Linked DNA regions of Homo sapiens: region 1 is linked to region 2. Evidence: promoter capture Hi-C in 16 types of primary human blood cells and fetal thymus (Javierre and others, 2016). All regions are on one chromosome and are shown on one strand. Each heading gives the region's core, a stretch centred on a gene start or on the middle of the fragment in contact. The rest is flanking DNA. Distances are from core to core; before and after follow the strand shown. Region 1 overlaps MYLK (myosin light chain kinase). Region 2 holds the start of ROPN1 (rhophilin associated tail protein 1).

The links. Contacts are between HindIII fragments. The CHiCAGO score rates a contact against its expected background, and 5 or more counts as called.
Region 1: a contact is called between a fragment that was not itself captured here and the fragment with the promoter of ROPN1 in region 2, in 2 of 17 cell types (endothelial precursors and M1 macrophages). The highest score is 7.4, in endothelial precursors.

The regions. Positions count from the first base shown.
Region 1 is chr3:123,737,935-123,742,296 of GRCh38, reverse strand. It overlaps MYLK (myosin light chain kinase), which reads left to right. Exons shown (of 34, transcript NM_053025.4): 6 at 2,296-2,344; 7 at 3,235-3,400. Among named protein-coding and RNA genes, the nearest start is that of MYLK-AS2, 50 kb to the right of the region's middle. The HindIII fragment of the contact is 3,540 bases long and covers 698-4,237 here.
Region 2 is chr3:123,989,440-123,993,477 of GRCh38, reverse strand. It overlaps ROPN1 (rhophilin associated tail protein 1), which reads left to right and starts at 1,354. Exons shown (of 6, transcript NM_001317774.2): 1 at 1,354-1,556. RefSeq lists an enhancer at 1,066-1,582. The HindIII fragment of the contact is 3,137 bases long and covers 1-3,097 here.

The DNA of each region.
Region 1 (4,362 bases), core at 1,218-3,717, 250 kb after region 2:
AAATATTTAAATACCTACAATGTGCTGGGATTTGTTCCGGATACATCTGATGAGTGAATAAGAAGTTCTAGTGGGGATATGGGTTGGGTCTTTAGCATATAGATGATATTTAAAGCTATGGGACTAAGACCTCCTGGGAGAAATTAGATGGAGCTGGGGAGAGGCCCAGGACTCAGCCCTAGGGTGCCCCAGCATGCAAAGGTTGAGCAGAGAAGGAGGTTGAGAGAAGATGAATAACCTGGTAAAAGCAGGAAAGTCTAGAAGAGAAAGTGCTTTGAAGGGGAGTGGGACCTTGTGTCAGATACTACTGAGCATCTGAGTGAGATGGAGACAGAGTGTCAACCATTGGGTTTGACAAGATTGTGGCTGGGATGGAGCCCAGTGGAGCGGAGAGGATCATAGCCCATTTGGAGTGTGCTGAGGAACGAATGAGATAATATCCTAACATGTACCTGCACGTTTCAGATATTCTTAAACATAATTTAATGGCAGAATAAGATGTCTAATTGTACATTTTACCTGACTACTTATTTTCTTCCTACTGAGTGACATTTATGTTGCTTCTAACTTTCACTATTACAAATAAGATAAAAGTGAATAGCTGTGTAAACTTTCTCTTCTAACTTTAGCGTCGTTTCCTTTGAATGGAGTCACAGAAACGGAGGTGCTGTCCCAAGAGCAGAGCATCTTTAAAGCTTATGATTTTTCCTCACTCAAGTATTTCCAGGAGGACTGGACAGTTGGCTCTGCCTCCAGCAGCATCTGAGGGCCCAGCATCTTGACTGTCAGTTGGGTCCTTTCAAAACAAGTCTCTCCTTTTATCAATTTAGAAGTTCTTTTACTTTTGAATAGAGAATGGAATGACAAAAACCAAAACACTTTCAGGAATGAAAACTAGACACAGCTCACTAAGTAATGTTAAACAGAAATGCCTGTATCGTAATCACCAATTATATGGAGCCACAGCTTAAATGTGATGCCAGTGTTTGTTATTAATCCCTTTTCACTAAAGTTCTGGTGGAATCTTAAACCGGGTGTGGCTGATGAAAATAGCCATGATTTTTCTCCTCCACACCTATGTTCTTACACAGTCATATAAATGTGATCAGAGTCAAAGTTAAGGAAGTTTACTCTTTTGCAGTAAACTCCCTGCAAATTCCCCACAGCAACTGTCTGCTGATATCAGAGGATGACTCTACCCTCCCTGGGATAGGGTTTTATAAACATCCCCAGCTTGCGGCAAAAGAAGAACAACTTTCAGGGTGATCATCATCTCAAAAAAGACCTCTTCCTCCCACCCCACCCCTCAAAATAAAACTCCCACTACTTTAGAGTTATTTCATGGTGACATTGTGAATTGTCCCTCCCAGCTGCAGGAGCTGGATGAAAGGAGCTAACCCCAGCTGCCTTGCTGGCTTTGCTATTTAATGGCCTCCTGCCTAGCACGGCAACAGCTCACCCAGGATCAGCAGCGCCCAGTAGGATAGCGCCTACTATGGCCTCATCATCTCACCTAGGACCGACTGGCAGTGCCCAGCATAGCAGCGCCTTGCCCAGGACTGGCAGTGTCTAGCATAGCAGCGCCTTGCCCAGGACTGGCAGTGTCCAGCATAGCAGCGCCTTGCCCAGGACTGGCAGTGTCCAGCATAGCAGCACCTTGCCCAGGACTGGCAGTGTTCAGTGTGGCAGCACTGCAGATTCTGCAGGAGCTGCTGGCTCCGCTGTAGCTCATCTGCAGTGACCTGTCCTGCTCTCTTTCAGCTTGCTGCTACTTGCCAGGCCTTAAGTGGAAGAATGGAGTGTTGATTGTGTCAGTCAAGAGTAGGTGTGGTAAGAGATAGGCATGGGCCTTTCCCTCCCTCCCTTTAACTGAGAAAATGTTCTGGAGAGGTCCTGAATCACCCCCAAATAATCCCCAAAATGGAAGGTAGAGCGTACTACCCTAACAACTCAGCAGGGTGGTTGAGAGTTTTAGAATCTGGCAGACCTGGGTGAATTTCTGCACTGTTACTGACTTTGTGACCTTGTATGGATGACTTAACTTCTCTGAATCTTATTTCTCTCATCTGTTTAAAAAATAGGATAATGTAGTATCAGCTTCATAAAATTATTGCAAGAAATTCACATGATAATGTATGTAAACACCTACCATAGTATCCATAGTGACACAGCCCATGCTCAGTCAAGATTAATGATCACCATCACTATCCCACCCACCCCTGCTGTTGAATCTTTTTACTTTCATTGCTCCAAGTTGGTGGCTCAGACCTGACTCATCAACTCTTTTTCTTGCAGGAAGTTTTGCGAAGCAGCTTGGTCAGCCTGTTGTTTCCAAAACCTTAGGGTAAGTCCTGGATGTTCAAGACAGAGTAAGGGTTGGATTGCTTTCCTGCTGACTTGAGCAGGATAGGTCTGGGGAGTAAGTCTTGGCTCTCCTAGGTTATAATAACCAAAGGGCGGGAGCCTAGTACAATGAGATGTGTCATTTACACAGCACCTCCTGACCTGGCTGCCTCTGTGATTGGCTCCTTTGACTGGCCCAGCTGCTAAATGTAAGGAAGTGGGAGAGGTGGCCAGAGTCTGCAGTGGACTCTAACAATCAAGGCAATAGTCAGAAGATTGAAATAAGCAAGCCTAGAAGAGGCGGGTAACAGTAGCTGCTGTAACAGACAAGCCTCAAATCACAGTGGCTCAACCCAGGGAAAGTTTGTTTCTTACTCAGGGAAAGTTCAGTTCAGATATCCTGGAACATGGGGAGAGCCTTCCACATTATCTTCCAGGAGCCCAGGCTTCTTCCATTTTATAGTTTCATCTCCTAGGCCCTTGAGCCCCCACTGGGCCTTCTGCATCTCACCAGCAGAGTGGACGAGAGACTGCAGAGCCTCACAGGAGGTTCTTATGAGTCGGCCCTGGAAGTGGCATACAGCTCTTCTGCTCATGGTCTCCTGGCTAAAACCCAGGCTTTCAGCCAGGGCTCAGTGGAATTCAGGCATGCCTAACTGCAAGGAAGGCTAGTAAATGAAGTCTAGCTGCATGCCCAAGAGGTAGAGGAAATAGGTTTTGGTGCCACACATTTTTCTAGAGAGAGCATGAGAAAGTTTCTGAGGCATAAAATTGGGAAGGCTACACTTTGATGGCTTCTGACCTTAACTTAGTGCCTTTGAGTGAGGTGGAGAGAGGATGGTTGAATTGCTGCCTTGTCTGGGACTGGATTCTCTGCCAATTTCCTTACAGGGATAGATTTTCAGCTCCAGCAGTGGAGACCCGTCCTAGCATCTGGGGGGAGTGCCCACCAAAGTTTGCTACCAAGCTGGGCCGAGTTGTGGTCAAAGAAGGACAGATGGGACGATTCTCCTGCAAGATCACTGGCCGGCCCCAACCGCAGGTCACCTGGCTCAAGGTGAGGTTTCTGTCTGCCCTGACCCTGATCCAGCCTGTATTAGTCTGTTCTCATGCTGCTAATAGACATACCCGAGACTGGGTAATTTATGAAGGAAAGAGGTTTAATGGACTCACCGTTCCACATGGCTGGGGAGGCCTCACAATCATGACAGAAGGTGAATGAGGAGCCAAGTCATGCCTTATATGGCGGCAGGCAAGAGAGCATGTGCAGGGGAACTCCTCTTTATAAAACCATCAGATCACATGAGACTTATTCACTGTCATGAGAATAGCATGAGAAAACCCACCCTATGATTCAGTTACCTCCCACTGGGTCCCTCCCACAACACGTGGGAATTATGGGAGCTACATTTCAAGATGAGATTTGGGTGGGGACACAGCCAAACCATATCATAGCCCTAGGGACCCTGAAAATTCAGGGTTAGACCCTTCAACTAGTAGGAGTCTTTCCATTCTGTTCCTCCTGTTTCAGGCGGTTCTCAGGGGTTCTCTGTATGTTTGTTAGGGATGCATGTTCCTGTCCCTATTACAACTCTCCCTCTGTTACTCAGACCACAGTGTTCTGACAATTCTCACACTCACAAAATAGCAGAAAACTTCTGAGTCAAGACAAGCCTGACAATCTCAAGAGTGGACTGTGAAGTTAGGGTTCTAGGTGTTAAGCCACAGCTCCCTGGTTTATAAAGCCTGTGAAGCTGGATAAGTCATTTGACTTCTTGGAATCCTGGTTTCCTTATCGGTGAGATAGAAATAATACCACCTACCTCAAAATATTGTCAGGAGCCTCCATGTAGAAGGGATTTATAAATCATTCAGGGCTGGGGGAAGTGAAGCTTAAGGGGGAGAGGTGGGCGGGCAGGGAGGCAGTGGCATGGGGTTGGGGATGGCTGTTAAACAGGGCAGTGAGGATCCTAGGGGAACAGGTAGAGTCATGGCCAGGGGAATAGGTTTTTCAGAGTT
Region 2 (4,038 bases), core at 105-2,604:
CACTGTTGTATAAATGGAATGAAGGATTAGATGATGCAATGGGCCCCTTTAAAATAGGTGTGAAGTGACACGGGATGTAGCAGAGAAAGATGGGGCTTTTCTTGCCTCCTTGGGTGCTTAAAACGAACAGTCTTGAGACCAGGTGCGGTAGCTCAAACCTGTAATCCCAATACTTTGGGAGACCAAGGCAGGTGGATCACTTGAGCCCAGGGATTCAAGACCAGCCTGGGCAACATGGCAAAACCCCGTTTATAAAAATATAAAAATTAGCCTGTCATCGTGGCAAGCACCTGCAGTCTCAGCTACTTGGGAGGCTGAGGTGGGAGGATTGCTTAGACCTAGGAGATTGAGGCTGCAGTGAGTCATGATTACCCCATTGCACTCCAGCCTGGGCAACAGAGCAAGACCCTGTCTCAAAACACACACACACACACACACACACACACACACACACACACACACACACACACAGTCTTGAAACCGGAAGACCTGGAGTAAAGTTGGGCCCTGAGCCCTACTGCCAGCTGTTCGATCACAGGCAAAATTACTCGAAGCCTTGAGCCTGTTTTTTATTTCCAAAGCGAAGGTAATACCTACCTTCAGAGTTTACTGTGAAACTTTGATGTCATCATGTTTGTAAAAGTGCCCTGGCACAGTGACCACATTCTACCCTATAAATATTTTCTATCTTTCCCTGTTGTCCCCAGGCATCTCAGGCTCTGTTCCTATCCACTCCATGCCCCTTTCTTAGCATTATAAGGTCAAGAGTGAGGAATCTGGGACCACGCAACCCAGATTCAGATCCTGACTCTGTCACTTGCTGACTGTCATCTTGGACAAGTTTAACCTCTCTGTGCTCAGTTCCCTCATCTGTAAAAATGGGGATAACAATAGTACTTGCCTCATGGGGTGACAGTAAGGATGAAATGAGTTCATGTGTGTAATGCACTTAGAACAATTCCTGGCACCAAAAACTCATTGTAAGAAGTGTTGTTACTATGATTCCTGAGGAATTCTCACCTGTCCACTTTCCACAAGCCGAAAGATCAAGCTCCACTTCTGCCCTCTCACCTACAAAAGCGCACCGTCAATGGCTACACATTCCGCCCCACCCCCAACGCCCCCAGCCCGGGTTTCCTAACGTCCCCAGCCCAGTCCTTAACCCTCCAGGCCGTCTGGTCCTTCCACCACCAGCAAAGCCCAAAACAGCTTTCAGCGTCCCCTAGCAGCGCCCTAGCGGGACCCTGGGAACCCGCCGCTGCAGGAGAGGCGGGGCGGCTCTGTGACGTCGCGCCCGGCGCTACCCCTGGTGACCTGGCAGCGGAGCCCGCGCAGGGTTTGCCAGGCGAAGGCGGAGCGCTAACGTCTAACGCTAACGGCGGTCGTGCCCCGCCGCTGCTGTCACCCCCGGCCGCTGCTGCCCTCCCCGCCGAGGTTCTACTGCTCTCCTTCTTAAGAAGGGTGGGAGGCACTCGGTCTCTCCCCACACCTCTCGCCTGAGGCCAGGCGCCAGGTGTCGCCTGAAGCCAGACAGCCGGTTTGGGAGCGAGCCTGAGGTAGCCACCCCGAGGGGAAGTGGAGGGAGGGCAGGGCTCTGAGCGCCCCGAGGGCTGCGCTGGTCTGAGGGAGGAGCCCTGCCGGACGCCCCCTGGATTCTGAGCCTCTCCTTGTTCACAGGGCAAGGGGAAGGCAAGGGGATCTTCAAGAGAATGTGACTGTGGGGGATTATGGCTTTCTGGCCAATTTGTGTGCGTATTTTGTACCCAGAATACTATTATACGGTTTCTTACCCGGAGGACAGTGGTTGGGAGGCTCAAGAGTTTGGAATCAGAGCCCTCCACCGAGGAGCCACACCTCTGCTTTTTCATCAGCGACAGGGATATAAAAATACCTCTGGGTGAATTGTCATGTGGATGTCATGGGCATACCTAGCACTTCATAGACTCCTATCACACATTATTTTATACCTAGCACTTCATAGACTCCTGTCAGGCATTATTTTATACCTGGCACTTCATAGACTCCTATCACATATTATTTTATACCTAGCACTTCATAGACTCCTATCACGCATTATTTTATACCTAGCACTTCATAGACTCCTATCACGTGTTCATTTTATAGCTAGCACTTCATAGACTGCTATCACGCATTCATTTTTACTAGTACCTATTGAACACTAAGTTCCAGGCACTGGGCTAGGCACTGGGATGGTGTGGTGAGCAAAAACTGACCAGTCCTGCCGTGGAGTTTGCTGGGGGAGACACATGTTACTCAAAGAATCACACTAAGGATAGGTAAGTGATGCTCTGGAAGGGTATGTACAATGGAACTGACAGGGTAATCAGGGAAGGTTAAGCAGACCTCCAAAGGAAGAATCAACCTGTTAAGAGGAGGAGAATGTATTCCAAACAAGAGTAACCACATCCCAAACCCACCATCTCCAATTCCAAACCCAAACAGGGATGTGCAGTTGCCTGTGCTTGGTTCCAAGTGATACTCATAGAAACCCTCTGAGATTCTGCCCTGGAGCCTTTCATTCATGTTACTGGAGACTTTCATTTATGAAACGGAAGCCCTGTTTAGCCCATACCAATAAAACCAAGTGAGAGATCCCTGAAACAAGGCTATAGTCTATTTTAAGACCTACATTCTTCAGCACTTGGCAGGTATATGTTGGCCTCCATTTTACATTGAGAGGCATGTAGGTTTCACTTAGGAGGAAATGCATTGAATTGAAAGAGTTGGGGTTATGGATAAGCTCTGGAATGTATAATTGAAGAAGACCTACACTATCAAGAGATTTAAAAATGGAAAATAACTTTACAAAATGTTAGAATTGAGGAATGTTAAGATAGAATGGACCTTTCTCCCACTTCTTTGATGTGAACAAATGACCCTTATTGCCCAAAGGCAGGAAAGCTGGGCTTTGGTGCCTCTTCAACTCAGAGAGTCTATGATTTCAACTCTGTGATTCAAAAGTGCATGGAACTCCTGAAAGTAAATGGGAACATGGGGGGATAATTTGACCTGACCCTCCTTTAGTGTTTTCTATTTCTACAAGGGTACCACCACTGTGCACCCAGTCATCCAAGCTTGAAAACTGATAGTCACTCTAGACTTTTCTGTCCTTCACCTCTTCCTCCTTCTCCACCTTCTCTTCTTCCTCCTCCTCCACCTCCTCTTTTCTTCCTCCTCCTCCTCCTTCAGTAGTTACCAAATCCTGTAGATCCTATCTCCTAAATACTTGTCTCTTATATCACTCCCTATTGCAACTACTTTTCAAGGCAGTGAAGCTCCTGGGAGTTGTCAAAAGTGCTGCCATATTCTCCTAACCTGGCTCCCTGCCTGAAGCTTCACCATCCTCTCTTCAGCTCATCCACACAGCTGTCAGTCAACGTGTTTCAGAGTCCAACAAAGAGAAATAAATCATATAGTAATTTTTTGAGCATATAATTTAACAAGAGAAGTTCAATATAAAGAATTGTTAATGATGGGATTGGAGTAATGAAGGATTGGCTAATATGTCAGGAGAGATCTAAAATATACAGGAATCACAGATATAAGGGGCAACCACTACCCCTGAGATAGATCACCCAAGGAAGAAACCTTTCCCAGAGCTTGGTGCATAGGGGATGGCCACAGCTGACTGGAGAGCAGAGAAATTGCTGAGGTGCCAGGCAGGCAAAATTTACTCTCTGAAACACCAGAGAAGCCATTCACTAAAAGGTAACTCACTGACAGCACTCTGCTATAGAGCTTCCCAAGAGAGGTGCCAGGGGACACTGCTAGCCATGGAGCACTGATAGCCACTGTGTACTCCAGCAGTTGGGCACTCAAAAGATCACACACTGCATGAAACAGATGCTAGAAAAGCTGTGTGCTACAGGATCCCAGCATAGGAGAAACTACAAGTTCCTGGAGCCTAGCAAGAAGAGCATACCTAAATTCCTAAGAGAAACCTCTTCCTCCTCCAGTCCTTCCAGTGCCCTGTCCTAACAAAGCATATCCTTATGACAGCTGACAAGGGAAAAAATG